Regions from separate parts of the Homo sapiens genome. Here all the other regions are linked to region 1. The links are contacts of gene promoters, found by promoter capture Hi-C in blood cells and fetal thymus (Javierre and others, 2016). All regions are on one chromosome and are shown on one strand. Each heading gives the region's core, a stretch centred on a gene start or on the middle of the fragment in contact. The rest is flanking DNA. Distances are from core to core; before and after follow the strand shown.

Region 1 (2,587 bases), core at 36-2,535:
ACATCACTTATGTTGGGGAGACAGTGGGGGATAACGGGGGTGGGGAAATGGGAAGAGTTGCTCTCAGGGAGTAAAGGTGTGGGGAAAAGCAGAGCCAAACCGAGATAACCCTGTGTCTTGCCCATCCCTGCCAAGGAAAACACATACATGCAAGACACCTCTCCACTCAAACAGCACAGACTATTTCAAATCGCAGATGTGTCATTTAATTAATACCTGTGTGACTTTGGGAAAATTATAAATAGCCTTAACCTTGCTGAGTCTGTCCAATCTGTAAAATGGATTATGAATACTTTCCTCACAGGCTTATGGTGTGCTGGTAATATCTTCCTCTGGATGGCAGTTACATTGCAAAAAATAATTTAAAAAAAAGAACTGTATACATTTAAGATTTATACATTTTCTTTCTTCCTGGATGTAGAATAGGAAAAAAAGAAAAAGAAAAAAAAAAAGACTGGTGTATTTTCTGTATATATGCTATACTACGATTTTTAAAAAGGCTTGTACGAAATAAAAGAATATTCCTTTTCGGCCAGGCGCAGTGGCTCACTCCTGTAATCCCAGCACTTTGGGAGTCCAGGGCGGGTGGATCACGAGGTCAGGAGTTCAAGACCAGCCTGGCCAAGATGGCGAAACCCCGTCTCTACTAAAAAATACAAAAAAATTAGCCAGGCGTGGTATCGGGCGCCTGTAATCCCAGCTACTCGGGAGGCTGAGGCAGAGAATTGCTTGAACCAGGGAGGCGGAGGTTGCAGTGAGCCAAGATCGCGCCACTGCACTCCAGCCTGGGCGAGAGCGAGATTCCGTCTCAAAAAAAAAAAAAAAAAAGGAATATTCCTTTTCCAGGATTATTATGAAGATTCAATAAAACCATGTTTATTAAGTGTTAAGCACAGTGCCTGGCACATAACGTGCTGGGCGGGGTCTATGGTCCAGACAGGGGGACCAGGCACTTTCCAGCGCCTGGATCTGCAGACGCGAGGTCTTCTGTATTCTGGCCAATCTTGGTGTTGCAGCTGCTCTCTGGGCCTCAGTTTGCTTGAACTAAATGTAACGGGGCCAACTTAGGTGAACTTTGGGAATCCAGCCAACCTGACTTTAGGGAGAGTATGGAGCCACGGATGGCATTGTGAATCCGGAGGGCCGACACCAGAAGAACCTGCAACGTGGCATCTGCTACCTTACTTCCCCCGGAAAAGCGCCTGCGGCGGCGCCTAGGCGCGCGGTGCAATGTGGGCCAGCAAAAGGCGAGGCTGGCCCCGCCCCTTGCACCGCCCACGTGGCCAGCGCCACCTGCCTCATTGTGCCCAGGAGTTCTCCAAACCCGCGCTGCGGAGTGAGTGACCAAGTTCCGGCCAGTTCGACCTCGAGGATCCAGAGGTGGAGACGGTACTACCTCCCAGCTCTGTTTTCCATCCCCTTCAGGTCCTTCCTCGGGAGGCGGCGAAGGCGGTCCACCCTGCGCGTGATCCTTTATGCCCGGCCCCTGCCCCTCCCTCCGGGTGGAACTTCCCCCTCACCGCCAGACTTAAGCTGAGGATCGTTGGATCTCTGGCGGGGTGCAGAACTGAGCCCAGGCCACAGTACCCTATTCACGCTCTGTGCTTGTGCCAAGGTGAGTTTCTCTTGCTGCTGGCCTATCTTTCTCCCGGAGGAGATGGCCTCGATTCTTTACTACTGAAATGTAAGCCCCTGGGGTTGAGTGGAGAGCGCAGAGCACTGGAGGGGACGAGACTTGGTTTCGGATTTGAGCTCTTCTTTTTCTCTGTATGATCTCTTGCTAACTTCCCAGTTTCTCTGAACCTGTTTCCTCAGCAATAAAATGAGGTCCTACATTAGAACTGTAGCAAGAATTGAGATAAAGCTTTGAAGGCGCACAGCGCATACTAGGTGATCTGCAAGTTTTAATTGCCATCTTTTTGTTTGCTCACCTATGTGCTTTTTCCAGCTGCTCCGGCTTTCTTATGCAGGTGCAGGGATAGTTCTCAGAAGTGGGGAGAAGTGGGGATAATTCTCTTACTTAGACACCTGCTTTGGGTCTGAGAAAGTCTGACATGTTATTCTGTTGCCCCAGAACTCTGTTAAAGTAAGACACAGATCTGAACCTTCACTGGATGAGGCTACTGTTAATTAACTCTTCCCCTTCAGATCGTTCATACTCAGGGCTGCAGGCCTGTTACTTTTCCAAGATCTGTTTCCTTATCTTTAATACAGGAGCAATCTCAGTATGATTCTATCTGGTCCACTGGGATTTTTTGCCGAGTATAGTAAAGTGCTTTGATATTCTCCAAGAGGATTCTTTTCAGGTTTTCCAACAGGTAAAGGAAGAAGGTGACAGAGGCAGCGACTTCCTCAAATGTCCTTCCAGCTGGCCAAACTCAACCTGTCAAGATCTCTCCCCCATAAGCTGTGTGTGTGTGGTGTGTGTATTGTGTACATTGTATGTATGTATGTATGTATGTATGTATGTATGTATGTATGGGACAGGTACTCTAGGAGTGAGGGGTTCAGGCAGATGACAGGCTCAGACCTCAAGGAGTAGCCAGGTTTGTGGGGGAAATTTATATATAAACAGAAAAATGTAGTG
Region 2 (2,587 bases), core at 30-2,529, 880 kb before region 1:
GTCTTAATTTTCTCTACTCCCCAGAAAAACTTTCTAGTGTCTCACAGTTCCTATATTTAAATCAAATTTTTCTTTTCTTCTTTGAGACAAGGTCTTTCTGTGTTGCCCAGGCTGGAGGGCAGTGGTGTAGTCATGGCTCACTGCAGCCTCGAACTCTTGGGCTCAGGTAATCCTCCTACCTCAGCCTCCCAAGTAGCTGGGACTATAGGCAAGCACCACCATGCTCAGCTAATTTTTGTATTATTTTGCAGAGGTAGGGTTTGGCCATGTTGCCCAGGCTGGTCTCAAATTCTTGGGCTCAAGCAATCCACCCCCCTCGGCCTCCCAAAGTGTTGGGATTACAGGCGTGAGCCACTGTACCCGGCCAAATTACTTTATTTTTTATTTACTTTTTAAAAGAAGAGCAGAGCAGAGTAGCATAGTATCTAAGAGTACATACTGTACAAAATCATATCTCGGTTCAAATCTCTGCCTCTGCCACTTAATAACTATGACACAGACCTTAATCAAGTTCTCTAAGCTTCAATTTCCTTATCTGTGAAATGGGGACAATGATACAAAGAATTAAATATGATAATAGCTATAGAGGGCTTATCATGGTGCCTGGCAGAAGGAAAGAGTTCAATAAATTGAAATTATTATTACTTCACAAGTAATGCATACTCACTGTAGAAAAAGTAGAAAATGAATATCTAATAAAATTGGAATCATATTGTTTGTAATCTGCTTTCTTCCGTTTGGCAATATATTGTGAACATTTTTCCCTGTCAGTTTATATATTTCTACACCATTATTTTTAGTGGCTTCAGAGAGGCTATAGAATGTTTCATAATTTATGGTGACCAAATCTCCCATTATTGGATATGATGCTGTTTCCAATTTTTTGCTGTTATAAAAATACTTTAATGGACACCCCTTTCTTTGTGCATGTCCCTAATTGTTTCCTAGAAATGGCATCGTATTCAGGCAGCCCCTCCTAATGGCAACTGAAATCTCGGCATGCACAAGCTCTGGAGTAAGGCTCTTAAGCTGAAATCTGGAATTACTTTGGGCAAGACACTTTACCTCCCCACGAGCATCTGTTCTTCATCTGTAAAACAGGATTAAGGGTTCTCCCTACTTCACAAGGTGGTTGTGAGGATTAATAAAATAATGAAAGGAGCTCCTGGTGGGCCTGGCATGTGGATAGAACATGGTTAACAGTGTTAAGTACCACAGACATTCAGAGAAAAGGAGGCCTGCAAAGAGGCCTGGATCTCAAATCCAGGGTCTAGTACAGCACCAGCACCTGGCATAGAGCAGACACTTAGAAAGCATCCTATTTTTTTTTTTTTTTTTTGAGACGGAGTTTCGCTCTCGTTACCTAGGCTGGAGTGCAATGGCACAATCTCGGCTCACTGCAACCTCCGCCTCCCAGGTTCAAGCGATTCTCCTGCCTCAGCCTCCTGAGTAGCTGAGATTATAGGCATGCGCCACCACACCCGGCTAATTTTGTATTTTTAGTAGAGATGGGGTTTCTCCATATTGGTCAGGCTAGTCTCGAACTCCTGACCTCAGGTGATCCGCCAACCTCGGCCTCCCAAAGTGCTGGGGTTACAGGTGTGACCCACCACGCCCAGCCAGAAAGGGCTCTTATCTAGAGGTGAAAGAAAAGAGATCATGATTCCAAAAATAAATACAACTCCTCTGTATTAAAAAAAAAAAAAAAGACCTTTGGGGTCCTCGTAGACAAGACAAGGATCAAATCCCAAACGACTCTCTTCACCTGGGTCTTTGAGGTCTGTCCATCATGACAGATCTTCAGGTTTTCATCTAATTCTCCACCCACAAAAGCACAGCGCGGCCTCCTGCCAGGCCCCTGTTCCCTCCAGCCACTCACTGTCCCCCTTCAGGGATTTACTTCTGCACTTTCTCCCATCCAAGTTCCAAGCAGGCCTGACACTGCTTAGCTTCTGAGATCTGCATGTTCAAGGTGGTATGGCCATGGACTTGACTTCCACACTTTCTGCTGCTCACCATGGGGGTCTGTCAGCCCTCCTGAAGCTTCAGGTCCAGCTTGGGCTGCTCTACTCTAGGAAGCCTCTCCCACCACAGGGCCCACCATGGTGGTCCAGACCCTTCAGCACTGTCTCCTGGGTGTCCGAGACAACTTCCTGAGGGTTAAAATGATGTCTATATTTCTTTGACCTCAGCCAGTGATGAGCAAAAAAGGCATGCGGTAAAACCTGGGGAGCAAAAACCCCCTCACTTCCCCTCTCTGTGATCCCCTTAAGACCTTCTGTTTACTTTAAGAGCAAAATGTTTGTCCCATGACCAGGCCCCAGACTCATTAATTCTATGAATGAATTTTTCTTTATGTTTACTGAACATGAGAGCCACACGGTGCCTTTAAGAAGGTTGCTGGCCTATGAGCAAGTCACAGAGGGGATCTAGGTGGGACTTGGCTGACCATTCTCTGGATGGGAGGAGGGGTGGCACGGCCTGGGCCTGGGATGTCAGAGCAGCTCTGGCTTGGGCCTACAGTGCTGCCAAGTGATTCCATTCAGCTCACTTGGTACATCATCCCTCCCAGGCCCTGGTGACAGTG
Region 3 (2,587 bases), core at 38-2,537, 860 kb before region 1:
TGAGAAACATTGCTGCCTATAACCTGGCTCCTGTCCCCACAACTCATGACACTAGCCTCACCAAGTCCCTAGCTTTGTGGCCAAATCTAGAGTTCCTTTTTCCTTCCTTGTCTTACTGAACAATATTTTCCACTTGGCCACAGGGTGAGATGAGTAAGCCAGGGTGGTACAGGTGCAGGGTCAGATCCTGTCTATTTAACACTGTGATGTCTTATTCATCTCATCATGGATTTGTTGTTGTTGTTGTCTGAGACAGAGTCTCACTCTCACTCTGTCACCCAGGCTGGAGCACAGTGGTGCCATCACAGCTCTGCAGCCTCAACCTCCCGGGCTTAAGCCATCCTCCCACCTCAACCTCCCAAGTGGCTGGGACTATAGGCATGCACCACCACATCCCCAACTAATTTTATTATGTTTTTGTAGAGACAGGATCTTGCTGTTGCTGTTTCCCAGGCTCATCTCAAACTCCTGGGCTCAAGCAACCCTCCCACCTTGACCTCTCAAAGTGCTGGGATTATAAGTGTGAGCTACCATGTCTGGCCCATCATGGACTTTTTATATTAATTTGATTGTTTTAAATAGTGCATTGAAATATTATGTGATTACTGAGTTTTTTGGTGCCCCTTTTAATTTCAGACCCCAAGCAAGTGCCTCCCTCACCTCACCCTAGTCCTGGCCTTGCTTGACCACTGCCCCCTCTTAAGCTGTCCTCTCTTCTACCTTTTCCCGCTGTTTCTCAGTTGCTATTGCAGGATCTCTCCCACTCCAATCCCCCACTTAAATGTCAGTGTGTCTGAGCATTCTGTGCTTTTTTACTTGGTCATTGCACTTATTACATTAGGCATTACATCATTCTTCTTCATTTCTCAAGTGCCAATCATAGTGCCTAAAATTTAGTGGGTACTCAGTCAGTGCTTACTAAATGAATGAACCATGCTTTTACTGAACAGTTGTAGATTCAGTGTTCTACACCTAGAATTATTCATAATTCCCTAACTTTTTGCAGCCTTGTCGTACAACAGATAAAATAGACTGCGTGATGTGATAACAGTGTTTTGAATTAGCAAACCCACTTCTCCTACTCAGCCCTCCAGTTATGGTGGATTTTGGAGGAAAACAAGTCAATATAATAGCATCACAGCATCATTATTTTTTGCAAAATTGACTACCACATAGTCCCAATAAGCCTAAACCCTTTTTTCAACCTTGAACTTTCAGAATAGATCAGTAAAACTAAGGATTTATGTATTAAATGATAAAATTAGTTACCATTTATTGAGTCTTTTTCTTTTTTTCTTTTTTTTTTTTTTTTTTGAGACAGAGTCTCACTCTATTGCCCAGGCTGGAGTGCAGTGGTGCAATCTCGGCTCACTGCAACCTCCGCCTCCCAGGTTCAAGCGATTCTCCTGCCTCAGCCTCCCGAGTAGCTGGGATTACAGGCATGCACCACCGTGCCCAGCTAATTTTTATATTTTTAGTAGAGACGGGGTTTCACCATGTTGTCCAGGCTGGTCTTGAACTCCTGACCTCAAGTGATTCACCCTCCTCAGTGCTGGGATCCCAAAGTGCTGGGATTACAGGTGTGAGCCACTGGGCCCAGCCTATTGAGTCTTTTTATGTTCTAGGCACTGAGATATATACTGTACAAATATTATGTCATTTGGGCCTAACACCCAGCCTAATAGGTGATTGGTATTATTCCATTTTATAGATAAGAAAGATGAGCCTTGAAAAGGTTGAGTAATTTACTAGCACATGGTAGAGATAAAGTTAGAACCGGGTGTCTGTCCGAAAGCCTATACACCATCATGTCTCCTACTCAGTGGACCGTGCAGACCACAGCTCCACCTGCGACACCACACTGGGAGTTCATCTGCAAAGCGCCCTCCCTCCATTTGTCTACAAGCCAGAAGGCCTAACAGTAAGAGTTAGAATCCTAGTCAGACTGCCTAGGTTCAAATCCCGGTTCCAGCAGTTCACTGTGGGACCTTGGACAAGTTATTGACCTGAGATTGTTACCTCATGTTACTCAGGAAGTAAATGGAAATGCTAATAGCACCCACTGGAGGGCCATGGTGAGGATTATTTGAGACAATGCAAGCAAAGCAGTTAGCACAGTGCCCCGCACACAATAGGAGCTGGTACTTGTTAGCAACTGCTGATCTTGTGGCCCCAACATTGCTCCTTCATCCCCTGTTCTCTAGATCCAGGACTCAAACCATGTGTTCTGGAACTAATTCCTGGAAATAATAGACCAGAAATATGTATAGTGAGTGACTATGAAAACAAGACTAGCTGGGTGTGGTGGCTCACGCCAGTATCTCAATACTTAAAGGGAGGCAGAGGCAGGAGGATCGCTTGAGCCTAGAAGTTCAAAACCAGCCTGGGCAACATAGCAAAACTCCATTCTCCACAAAAAGGAAGAAAAAAACAAACAAAAAATAAAGCTGGCATGGTGGCTCACCTCTGTAATCCCAACACTTTGGAAGGCTGAAGCAGGAGGACTGCTTGAATTTACAAGTCCGAAACTAGTCTGGGCAACATAGCGAGACCCCTGTCTCTACAAAAAATACAGAAAAAAAATAGC
Region 4 (2,587 bases), core at 63-2,562, 830 kb before region 1:
CCTGGCCAAGATGGTGAAACCCCATCTCTACTAAAAATACAAAAAAAAAAAAAAAAAAAAATTAGCCGGGTGTGGTGGCGGGCGCCTGTAATCCCAGCCTACTCGGGAGGCTGAGGCAGGAGAATTGCTTGAACCCAGGAGGCGGAGGTTGCAGTGAGCCGAGATCGCGCCACTGCACTCCAGCCTGGGCGACAGAGTGAGGCTCTGTCTCAAAAAAAAAAAAAAGGTAGCATTTATGCTGGTGTGCCATCATCTTAGCATCTCCTTCTCCTCCTGCCCCCTCTAGCTCTGTGGTTCCTTTCTCTTCTTTACAAAAACATTCAATCCTTGCCGATTTTCTCTTGTGCTCCCACAGCCCAATCACTGACTCCTTCCACAGCACCTGTCACCATATCATCGCTGCCTGTTTGTGCACGCTTAAGGAGGGTTGGTCGAATGAATGAATTCAGTCTGTATCCTCAACACCCAATGCCGCGCCTGGCACCATAGGCGTTCACATGCAGCCGTGCCGAAAGACTGAGTGAATGCTGGACTGAATGAATGACTGCCTGTAAAATATCTACAGGAAAGCCCTGCAGGAAATGCCCTCCATAAATTCTAGTCCCCTTCTCCTTCCTAACCAAATCCTCCCCTCCTTCTGCTTCCATCACTTCCTAGCTGTGTAACTTAGGCAAAGTGGTTTACCTCTCTGTGTCTAATTTCGGCAAAGGTAAAATGGGGAAGTGAACCTCATCTGGTTCTGGTGAGCTTCCACGGGTGCTGTATGGAAAGCCTGGCACCCTGCCTGGTGGAGAGGGCTCGATGATGGTTAGAAGGAGAGTTTCTCTAAACTGCCGCCTACCTTCCTTCCCCTTTCTCATTTCCTGCCACAAGTCTCCCACCCACTTTCTCTGTCTCCCTCTCACCCCTTGTCTTTCTCCATCTTGTCTTCCCGTAAAGACCCAGCCCTTCCCTCCTCCATGAAACCTGGATTCCTCCAAGGCGAAGGCCCCCCTCTCTGGGGTCTCAGCCTCCAGCGCTGACATCCTAGGCCGCCTCGACAGGTGGGCTCACCATCCAACCCTTCCTCCTCCCCCTTCAGCCCCCTCCTCCTGCTCTTCAACTGAGGTTCGCCTTCCCAGCTCCCCCACGCCCTGCACAGTGCTGATCAGTAAAAGAGGAGGACACTGACGAGTGGCGACTTGGTTCACGGGGTTCTTTGCTTCCTCGGTGGCGGAGGGGCCTGGGGCCTCTCTCCAGCACCTCTGCCCTTCCGCAGCCATCGAGTTGATCAAAGACCTGGTCGGTTACGATGTGCGCCAGGCGCTGCTCAAGGGCCTCGTGGCGCTGCTGATACCGTCGGTCAAGGAGATCTCCAAACTGCAGGCCAAGATCCTCAGTGGTAAGGACCTGCTCAAATGGGGCTGCCTGGGCCACGGGAGGGCGGTCTCTTGCCTCACGGCTGCCCCCTCCTCAGACCCCTCGGTTCTCCAGCTCACCCCCAGCCTGCCGATGTTTTTGCAGCAGGCCGCGGCCGCCAAGGCCATCGGGTAAGCGGGCAGGGGTTAGTGGGTAGCTGCAGCAAGCCTGGCTTGGCGCTGCCGGCGGGCCCCGGGAGCGCTCCGTGCGCCGGGTGGGCGGGGGTGTGCGCCGGGTGAGCCCCAGGGCGTCGCCCCAGCCCGAACCCCCGGCCCAGGGTCCTGGCGCGCAACGACATGAGCATCGCCGAGGAGCTGCTGTACCTGCGCGTGGTGCGTGGCCTAATGGCCGCCATGGGCAACACGGACCACAGCAACAGCCAGCGGCTGGCCAGCCTCACGCTGGAGGTGCGCGCGGCGGCTGGTTAGGGGGCGGGAAGGGCGGCGGCACCCGCAGCCCCGTCGCCCCCGCAGTCACGCCGCCTCGCCCGCGCGGCGCAGTGCTTCGTGCAGATGTTCCCCTTGGTGGCGGAGCACGTGCGCAAGTGCATGGGGGAGGAACTCTACCAGCTCTTCCTGGTAAGTGCGCCCTTCCTGCCCCGCCGCAATGAGCAGATGGCGGCTCGGACAGTGTGATGCCCCTTCAGACAGTCCCCATCCTGGAGCGCGCCACATGCAGAGTGGACCTGGCCACCAGCTGCAGGAGGGACTGCTCTGGCGTAGGCTCCTCCACCCGCCACCTTCCTGTTCCCTTTCCTGCCCTTTCGGTCAGGCTGCCGACCCGCCCCCCACCTGCAACATCCCTCTGCCAAGCCCAACTCCAAGTCCAGACTGCCCTGGCACCCCAGCCGGGTCCCCCTTGCTCCTGTCCTCAGAGCAACGCTGAGGACTTGTACATGAAAATAGACAGCATTCAGGCGGACATCTTGGCGGCCAACACAGTCAATGTTACCAAAGGTGAGTGTGGGACGAGGGAAGCCGGGCGCAGGCGCCGCCAGCACAGCCTCACGCCCGCCTTTCCTGCCTGCAGCCCTGTGCCTCCATGGCAGCTCCTACAGCATGAACACTCTCTATGGCTCGCGCGATTCGGCTCAGATGGCCTACCTCACACACTTCGAGGAGGATGTAGAATCAAAGGAGTAACAGCCCCTGTGGCAAACCAGGAAGGCCAAGGCTGCGGGGCAGGGAAG
Region 5 (2,587 bases), core at 58-2,557, 800 kb before region 1:
GCCTCGGGGGGGCCAGGCACAGTGGCTCACACCTGTAATCCCAGCACTTTAGGAGGCCGAGGTGGGGAGATCACCTGAGGCCAGGAGTTTGAGACCATCCTGGCCAACATGGTGAAACCCTGTCTCTACTGGAAATACAAAAATTAGCTGGGCGTGGTGGCGCATGCCTGTAGTCCCAGCTACTCAGGAGGCTGAGGCAGGAGAATTGCTTGGACCCAGGAGGCAGAGGTTGCATTGAACCAAGATCGCACCACTGCCCTCCAGCCTGGGCGACAGAGCGATACTCTGTCTCAAAAAAAAAAAAAAAGAAAAAATGTATTTGGATTGAACAATGTTGTTTCATTGAAACTTTTACTTGCTCCTTGCAGATTGATTTTGATGATGTGGCTGCAATAAACCCAGAACTCTTACAGCTTCTTCCCTTACATCCGAAGGACAATCTGCCCTTGCAGGAAAATGTAACAATCCAGGTAGGTGCCTGTCATCTGGCTGCAGCCAGTGCGCCAGAGAATTCACTTTGCTTATTGACTCTTTGCTGATTGATTGTCTGGCATTTTAGCATAGTACATGGGCCCAGGATGGGCCCTTGAGAATTGATAAGAGCCATATATTGTGACAATTTGATTTGTTTTTCAGAAACAAAAACGGAGATCCGTCAACTCCAAAATTCCTGCTCCAAAAGAAAGTAAGTGGATTTCTACTAGCTTACTATCATGGAATTTGTGTCAGGAATTATGTTTCTAGGACTCAGAGTTGTGGAAGCTCCTCTTTTGCAGGTGGTTTCTATGTGGGTTGAGTCCTGCCTGTGTTCCAAGCATCTTTCTCTATGAGAAAGAATCCAATCTACAGCTATCAGGCCAACCTTTAAGAGACCTGGTGCATTTAGGAAATTTGCTGCCTGGCCTAGAAACCTTTTCTGTAGAATCCAGAGCCTGATGCTGAGGAGAGTAGGAATCAGCCATTGGTAGGCCTTTTTTCTTCCCTCGGGGCTCAGCCCCCTCAGTGGAACAGTATGCCTTGGAAAGAGATTTTGAAAATGGGAGACACTAGGCCTGTGGGTTGTTTAGAAGTACAGTTGGTGGCGCTATAGAGAGGGATGGCTGGGGCTGGAGAGAATAACAGCATTGCCTCGTGGTCTAGGAGGTTGGGAGTCTCTCTGCAGAAGTAGTCTGTGAAAACCTACTTTGACAACATGATAGACTGTGACTCTAGGGGGTAAGCTTCCCAAAAGATCCAGCTTAAAGCCAGTTGTACCTTGAAGGCTGGTGACCTGCACAGCTCTCCAGGTCTAGGGGTCATCATTGCCCTGAAATGATTCAGCTACCTCAGGGACTCACAGAATACTTGGCTGGAGCTTCAGGTTCTGGGGGCCCTGAGTGGAAGGTGGTGCCATTGCAAGCTTGGGCCTGACTATTGTGGTGCTGGCCCTTTCTTGCTGGGTGTACCGTAAGGTCATGCAGGAGAGTTGGGACTCGCAGCAGTCCCATTCCGTGTTCATGTCCTCAAAGGATATTGCCCCAGCTTTGTTTTGTTTTGTTTTTCAAAGGCAGGGTCTCACTTGGTTGTCCATGCTGGAATACCATGATATGATCGTAGCTCACTGTAGCCTTGAACTCTTGGGCTCAGGCAATCCTCCCACCTCAGCCTCCCATGTAGCTGGGACTACAGGTGTGCCCCATCACACCTGGCTAATTTTTTTTTTTTTTTTTTTTGTAGAGACAAGGTCTCACTATGTTGCCTGGGCTGGTCTCAAACTCCTGGCCTCAAGTGATCCTCCTGCTTCAGCCTCCTAAAGTGCTAGGATTGCAGGCGCGAGCCACCATGCCCAGCCAATAGCTTTTTTTCTTTAGGATGGAGTCTCGCTTTGTTGCCTAAGCTGGTCTTGAACTCCTAGCTTCAAGCAGTCCTCCTGCCTCAGCCTCCCAAAGTGCTGGGACTACAGGCACACACCACCATGCCCAGCTACACAGCTCATTTTAATGGAAAAAAAAATCTTTAAGGCCCTGAGCAGTAGCTCATGCCTGTAATCCCAGCACTTTGAGGGGCCAAGGTGGGCAGATCACCTGAGGTCAGGAGTTCCAAGCCAGCCTGGTCAACATGGTGAAACCCTGTCTCTATTCAAAATACAAAAAACTGGCCGGGTGTGGTGGCTCACACCTGTAATCCCAGCATTTTAGGAGGCCAAGGCGGGTGGATCACCTGAGGTCAGGAGTTCAAGACTAGCCTGGCCAACATGGTGAAACCCCTGTCTCTACTAAAAATACAAAAATTAGCCAGGCGTGGTGGTGGGTGCCTGTAATCCCAGCTACTCAGGAAGCTGAGGCAGGAGAATCGTTTGAGCCCGGGGGGGCAGAGGTTGCAGTGAGCCGAGATCATGCCACTGTACTCCAGCCTGGGTGACAGAGTGAGACTCGGTCTCAAAAAAACAAAGAAAAAAAATTACAGATCATTTGGGGCTAGATGTGATGGCTCACACCTGTAAGCCCAGTGCTTTGGGATGTTGAGGCAGGAAGATGGCTTGAACCTAGGAGTTTGAGACCAGCCTGGGCAATATAGCAAGACTCAGTCTTATTATAAAAATAAAAAA
Region 6 (2,587 bases), core at 54-2,553, 780 kb before region 1:
AGGGTAGGGGGAAGTGGGGATGGTGGGGATGGCTAATGGGTACAAAAATAAAATATCATCATAAATAAGACCTACTATTTGATAGCAAAACAGGGTGACTATAATCAATAATAACTTGTGTATTTTATTTTTTTGAGACAGAGTTTTACTCCATCACCCAGGCTGGAGTGAGTGCATTGGTGCCATCTCGGCTCACTGGAACCTCCACCTCCCGGTTCAAGTGATTCTCCTTCTTCAGCCTCCAGACGGAGTTGCTGGAATTACAGGCGCCCGCCACCACGCCCGGCTAATTTTGTTTTGTTTGTTTGTTTTGTTTTGAGACGGAGTTTCGCTCTGTCGCCAGACTGGAGTGCAGTGGTGCGATCTCGGCTCACTGCAACCTCCAGCTCCCTGGTTCAAGCGATTCTCCTGCCTCAGCCTCCCTGAGTAGCTGGGATTACAGGTGTGCGTCACCATGCTCAACTAAATTTTGTATTTTTTTAGTAGACACGCGGTTTCACCATGTTGGCCAGGCTGGTCTCGAACTCCTGACCTCGTGATCCGCCCGCCTCCGCCTCCCAAAAGTGCTGAGATTACAGGCGTGAGCCACCGCGCCAGGCCTAAAAATTTTTTTTAATTAAAAAATAGATATCCTTCTAGCTCAGAAAAGTTAGCTGATCCCTCCTTTATACTCTCTTCCTAAGTTCCGTTCATTCTGGTGGCTTTAATTACCATTTATAAGCCAACGATTCCCAAAATAACATCTTCGGTGCAGATCCCTTATAAGGATGACCAGTCATTAATATTCAGCTTCCTATCTGTTAGTCCCACTCAACATGACTTAGCAAGATCTCAAAATGAACGTGTCCAGAACAGCTCCTACCTTAGCCTACCCCATCTCAGTAAATGGCCCCAATATTTATCCGATTGATCAAGTGACAATCTTAGGAATCCTTGACACCGCCCTCTCCCTCAATCCCCATGTCCAATCTACCACCAAACCCTTCAAAACAAAACCCAAGTCCACACTCGTTTCCAATTCCATTGCCTTCCACTCTTTTTCAACGCAGCCGCACCCACATCTCATCCTAAACGACCGCAGCAGCCTCTGAAACTAGTCTAAACACGCCCAGATCTGCCGACGCCGCAGACCCCCTTCCCCCAGCCCAGGGTCGGAGGCGAGTCGCCGGGGGTCGGCAGAGGTCAGCAGCCTGCGAGACCCTCCTAGGCTCGTGGCCCTAGGCGCGGCAGCTGACACGTAAGTCTCGTCGCCCGACGTTGTTTCGGCGCTCAGAAACAACGTAAAGTAAAGGGGCGGGGCAGCGTTTTACAAACCGAACCGTGAATCTTTGCGGTTTCTCTTTCCAGCCAGCGCCGAGCGATGGGTGAGTGTCGCTCTGCATTGAGGCGGGTGAAGGGAGGTTGAGCTCAATCAGGCCCCATCCTGCTTCACAGCCTACTGAGGAGTCCAGACGCCCCGACCCCCGGCCAGGGACAGCCACGAGGAGTGGTGGCCCTCGGGTTTCGGCCGCCCAGCCCGTCTCTGGGGGCTGCGAAGGCTCTGGGCTCCGGGTTCCGGGCCGCGGGCTGCGGGCTCCGAGCGGCGCCAACATGGCTGCCGCGAGGAGGAGGCCCCGGCCTGGCCGCACGTGTATGATGACAACTCGGTAATGCTGCATACTCCCGAGTGCGCGGTGGGGAAGCCAACCTTGGAGAGCTGAGCGTGCGACCGGCCCGGCGCGGGGGTCTCCGGGAGCTGGCGAGTCGCTAGCACCGAGTCACAGTGGCTCAAGCTTCCTTCCCCGCTTCCACATGCAGGCATCTCTCGGGACAACTGGCACAAGCGCCGCAAAACCGGGGGCAAGAGAAAGCCCTACCACAAGAAGCGGAAGTATGAGTTGGGGCGCCCAGCTGCCAACACCAAGGTGGGTGCGAGCGTGGGCCTGTCCGCCTGGGAGGTCGCCTTCCCCCGCTCTCCAGCGTGCTCGGGTCTTTCCGTGTGACAGTTGTGCGTTCTTTCTTGGGCTCTGATTTCTCTGTAGTAGGGCCTGGGTGTCCTGTCCCCCTTTAGCTGTTGGATAAGTAAGTACCAAAGAGGGAATGCTCCCTCAGGCCCCCAAACCTGGAGCTTAGGATTTCAGAGAGAAGGATACTGTGTGGGGACTTGAGCTTCTGGAGAGGGTGGCGCCTCGCGTCATAGTCAGAAGCCTAGTCTTGTTTTTTTTACAGAGGCTTAATTTTCAGCATTTGGGGTCAGGCTTTCCTCTTGGAGGCAAGTAGGGTGATGAAAAAGAATCCTTAGGCGTGGTTGTGGCCGTCTTGGTCACCTGTGTGCCACTTGCCAATGCAAGGACTTGTCATAGTTACACTGACTGTTGCCTCCTCCCGGCCCAGGTTCCTCTCCCTCACTTGCCTTGCTCTCCTTGGTAACCTAGTTCCTGTAACCTTGTGTTTTCCAGATTGGCCCCCGCCGCATCCACACAGTCCGTGTGCGGGGAGGTAACAAGAAATACCGTGCCCTGAGGTTGGACGTGGGGAATTTCTCCTGGGGCTCAGAGTGTGAGTGAGGCCCTTTGGGAGTGGGTGGGAAAACGCACCTAAACGGTCT
Region 7 (2,587 bases), core at 31-2,530, 750 kb before region 1:
GAGGGAGGGCAGAGAGGTGAGAGACAAGGCCAGGAGGCCTGTGGTCCTGGGCCTCTGTCTCTGGCCCTGGGAAGGGTGGGCATTGCGCAGGGGTCTAGGGGTCCACGTGGTCCAGAGACTAGCTGCCCAAGTGCCCGTGTCTAGCATTTGAGAAAATGCAATTCCCAGCCAGGCAAGGTGGCTCACGCCTGTAATCCCAGCACTTTGGGACGCCGAAGCGGGTAGATCACCTGAGGTTGGGAGTTCCAGACCAGTCTGACCAACATGGAGAAACCCCGTCTCTACTTAAAAAAAAAAAAATACAAAATTAGCCGGGTGTGATGGCGCATGCCTGTAATCCCAGCTGCTCGGGAGGCTGAGGCAGGAGAATCGCTTGAACCTGGGAGGCAGAGTTTGCGATGAGCCAAGATCGCGCCATTGCACTCCAGCCTAGGCAACAAGAGCGAAACTCTGTCTCAAAAAAAAAAAAAAGAAAGAAAGAAAGAAAAAAGAAAATCCAATTCCCATTCACTTTCTGGCCTCTGGCTGCTGACCCAGGCCCGGGGGTATTTTCAGAGGAAGGGAATTGCGGACCCCGGAGGAACCCGAAATTTGCCCCTCAAGAGTGTAGAAGTGGGTAGCGGAAGATGTGGCCTGGAGCATGGTAAAAGCCTTGAAATTCCAGACTCTGCTTGACTCCTAAACCTGGCAAGGCAGCCCTCGGGCCAGGCAAGCCAGGCGCGAGACTGTGCCTTCCTTCCAGGCCCTAAAGAGGGCAGCACTGGGCCGGGCCCCGGGCGAGGGCGAGGGACACACGCGGTCCGGCACACTGAAAGGGGAGTGTCGGGTAACATGCCCGGGCAAAAGCGAGCGCCGCCCCTGCCTCTCCGCTGCTGGCTGGAACGCTGATCTATCTAGTTGCTGGGGAGACGCCCCCAGATGCCCGGGCCCCACTCGGACTTCAGCACACATCCCGAAGGATGGGGAAAGAAAGAGGCCCCCACGAGCGGGACTCGCAGTGGCCAAGGAGGGGTGAGAGGCGGACAGGGATCAGCTGGCCCCTGCGGCCTGGTTGCACCTGCATGGTGACTAGCTGCCGGGCTGCGCCCCGGGGCGCGGCGAGGAGGCGGGGTCTGGCAGTGCGTTGGGTGGGGGAGGAGCTTCTGGGTGATGTAAGGCCGGGAATGGGAGTGGCCTCTCCTCGACTCGCTGCTAGGAAGGGGGCGGGACTCTCGGTGACCAGACGCCGGGGAGGGGGCAGGCGTTCATTGATAAAACGCTGGGCTCCCCTGGGCGCCAGCGCAGCGTAGCAAATCCAGGCAGCGCCACGCGCGGCCGGGGCCGGGCGGAACCGAGAAGCCGGGACCGCGCTGCGACGCGCCGGCCGCATGGAGCCTGCCGCCGGTTTCCTGTCTCCGCGCCCCTTCCAGCGTGCGGCCGCCGCGCCCGCTCCCCCGGCCGGGCCCGGGCCGCCTCCGAGTGCCTTGCGCGGACCTGAGCTGGAGATGCTGGCCGGGCTACCGACGTCAGACCCCGGGCGCCTCATCACGGACCCGCGCAGCGGCCGCACCTACCTCAAAGGCCGCTTGTTGGGCAAGGTGGGCCGAGGGACGTCCGCGGGGTGGTGATGGTGGAGGTGGGGGTCCCGGCCGGCCTCTTTTCTGGCGCCGAGCAGGGCGTGGGCACTTGACCCCCAACGCGGGGACGCCCGCGGGCCAGACTCGGCCCCCCTGGAACAACCAGCCTGATGCCCCCTCTTCACAGGGGGGCTTCGCCCGCTGCTACGAGGCCACTGACACAGAGACTGGCAGCGCCTACGCTGTCAAAGTCATCCCGCAGAGCCGCGTCGCCAAGCCGCATCAGCGCGAGAAGGTGGGTCCAGGCTCAGCGGGCGAGGGGTGGGGTGGGGACGGTGGCATGGGAACCATGGAAGGATGACGACTCCGCGCCCTCATCGCAGATCCTAAATGAGATTGAGCTGCACCGAGACCTGCAGCACCGCCACATCGTGCGTTTTTCGCACCACTTTGAGGACGCTGACAACATCTACATTTTCTTGGAGCTCTGCAGCCGAAAGGTGAAAGATGGTGATTCCCGCAGGGATGAGAGTGAGGGAGAGAAGACAGTCTTTTTTTTTTTTTTTTTTTTTTTTGAGATGGAGTCTTGCTCTGTTGCCCAGGCTGGAGTGCAGTGGCGCGATCTCGGCTCACTGCAATCTCTGCCTCCCGGGTTCAAGCAATTCTCCTGCCTCAGCCTCCTGAGTAGCTGGGATTACAGGCATGCACCACCACGCCCGGCTAATTTTTGTATTTTTAGTAGAGACAGGGTTTCACCCTGTTGGTCAGGCTGGTCTCAAACTCCTGACCTTGTGATACACCTGCCTTGGCCTCCCAAAGTGCTGGGATTACAGGCGTGAGCCACTACACCCAGCCGAGAAGACAGTCTTAAGACCCAAAGCTGGGGCCCTGTTTCTTCCTCAGGGAGCACAGATGGAGGGGGAGGGGGAGGGAGGGCTCACCAGGGGCTGAGGCAGTGGCTCTCTGCAGTCCCTGGCCCACATCTGGAAGGCCCGGCACACCCTGTTGGAGCCAGAAGTGCGCTACTACCT

Evidence for each region. Contacts are between HindIII fragments. The CHiCAGO score rates a contact against its expected background, and 5 or more counts as called.
Region 2: a fragment that was not itself captured here is called in contact with the fragment with the promoter of AKR1A1 in region 1 in 1 of 17 cell types (activated CD4 T cells); the score reaches 5.9 in activated CD4 T cells.
Region 3: a contact is called between a fragment that was not itself captured here and the fragment with the promoter of AKR1A1 in region 1, in 2 of 17 cell types (activated CD4 T cells and total B cells). The highest score is 6.1, in activated CD4 T cells.
Region 4: a fragment that was not itself captured here is called in contact with the fragment with the promoter of AKR1A1 in region 1 in 10 of 17 cell types (total B cells, naive CD4 T cells, total CD8 T cells and 7 more); the score reaches 12.0 in total B cells.
Region 5: a contact is called between a fragment that was not itself captured here and the fragment with the promoter of AKR1A1 in region 1, in 5 of 17 cell types (erythroblasts, naive B cells, fetal thymus and 2 more). The highest score is 7.1, in erythroblasts.
Region 6: a contact is called between the fragment with the promoter of RPS8 here and the fragment with the promoter of AKR1A1 in region 1, in 3 of 17 cell types (total CD8 T cells, activated CD4 T cells and naive CD4 T cells). The highest score is 7.1, in total CD8 T cells.
Region 7: a contact is called between the fragment with the promoter of PLK3 here and the fragment with the promoter of AKR1A1 in region 1, in 12 of 17 cell types (M0 macrophages, activated CD4 T cells, fetal thymus and 9 more). The highest score is 14.1, in M0 macrophages.

The regions. Positions count from the first base shown.
Region 1 is chr1:45,549,541-45,552,127 of GRCh38, forward strand. It overlaps AKR1A1 (aldo-keto reductase family 1 member A1), which reads left to right and starts at 1,286. Exons shown (of 9, transcript NM_153326.3): 1 at 1,286-1,615. RefSeq lists enhancers at 969-1,028, 1,079-1,308, 1,539-1,758. The HindIII fragment of the contact is 4,529 bases long and covers 1-1,862 here.
Region 2 is chr1:44,668,477-44,671,063 of GRCh38, forward strand. All of the region lies in intron 1 of TMEM53 (transmembrane protein 53), which reads right to left. SNORD145 (small nucleolar RNA, C/D box 145) reads right to left here and starts at 2,580; the gene lies at 2,481-2,580. The HindIII fragment of the contact is 1,523 bases long and covers 519-2,041 here.
Region 3 is chr1:44,693,214-44,695,800 of GRCh38, forward strand. The region is part of intron 2 of ARMH1 (armadillo like helical domain containing 1); the gene reads left to right. The region is part of intron 4 of LOC105378690 (a long non-coding RNA gene); the gene reads right to left. Among named protein-coding and RNA genes, the nearest start is that of ARMH1, 20 kb to the left of the region's middle. The HindIII fragment of the contact is 5,253 bases long and covers 1-2,587 here.
Region 4 is chr1:44,722,864-44,725,450 of GRCh38, forward strand. ARMH1 (armadillo like helical domain containing 1) reads left to right here. Exons shown (of 12, transcript NM_001145636.2): 7 at 1,259-1,381; 8 at 1,457-1,529; 9 at 1,676-1,805; 10 at 1,899-1,976; 11 at 2,273-2,354; 12 at 2,428-2,587. The coding sequence ends at 2,540. LOC105378690 (a long non-coding RNA gene) reads right to left here and starts at 1,256. Exons shown (of 5, transcript XR_007066059.1): 1 at 1,172-1,256. RefSeq lists a silencer at 574-868. The HindIII fragment of the contact is 4,387 bases long and covers 1-2,587 here.
Region 5 is chr1:44,747,016-44,749,602 of GRCh38, forward strand. It overlaps KIF2C (kinesin family member 2C), which reads left to right. Exons shown (of 21, transcript NM_006845.4): 3 at 369-470; 4 at 637-685. Among named protein-coding and RNA genes, the nearest start is that of KIF2C, 8.5 kb to the left of the region's middle. The HindIII fragment of the contact is 179 bases long and covers 1,219-1,397 here.
Region 6 is chr1:44,774,237-44,776,823 of GRCh38, forward strand. RPS8 (ribosomal protein S8) reads left to right here and starts at 1,304. Exons shown (of 6, transcript NM_001012.2): 1 at 1,304-1,364; 2 at 1,798-1,904; 3 at 2,439-2,538. The coding sequence starts at 1,361. It overlaps SNORD55 (small nucleolar RNA, C/D box 55), which reads left to right and starts at 1,629; the gene lies at 1,629-1,702. SNORD46 (small nucleolar RNA, C/D box 46) reads left to right here and starts at 2,256; the gene lies at 2,256-2,353. RefSeq lists a silencer at 1,348-1,557 and an enhancer at 1,638-1,927. The HindIII fragment of the contact is 3,101 bases long and covers 1-1,770 here.
Region 7 is chr1:44,799,097-44,801,683 of GRCh38, forward strand. PLK3 (polo like kinase 3) reads left to right here and starts at 1,281. Exons shown (of 15, transcript NM_004073.4): 1 at 1,281-1,577; 2 at 1,744-1,851; 3 at 1,940-2,056; 4 at 2,526-2,587. The coding sequence starts at 1,368. RefSeq lists enhancers at 285-953, 638-697, 748-1,137, 1,908-1,957 and a silencer at 1,238-1,517. The HindIII fragment of the contact is 10,835 bases long and covers 1-2,587 here.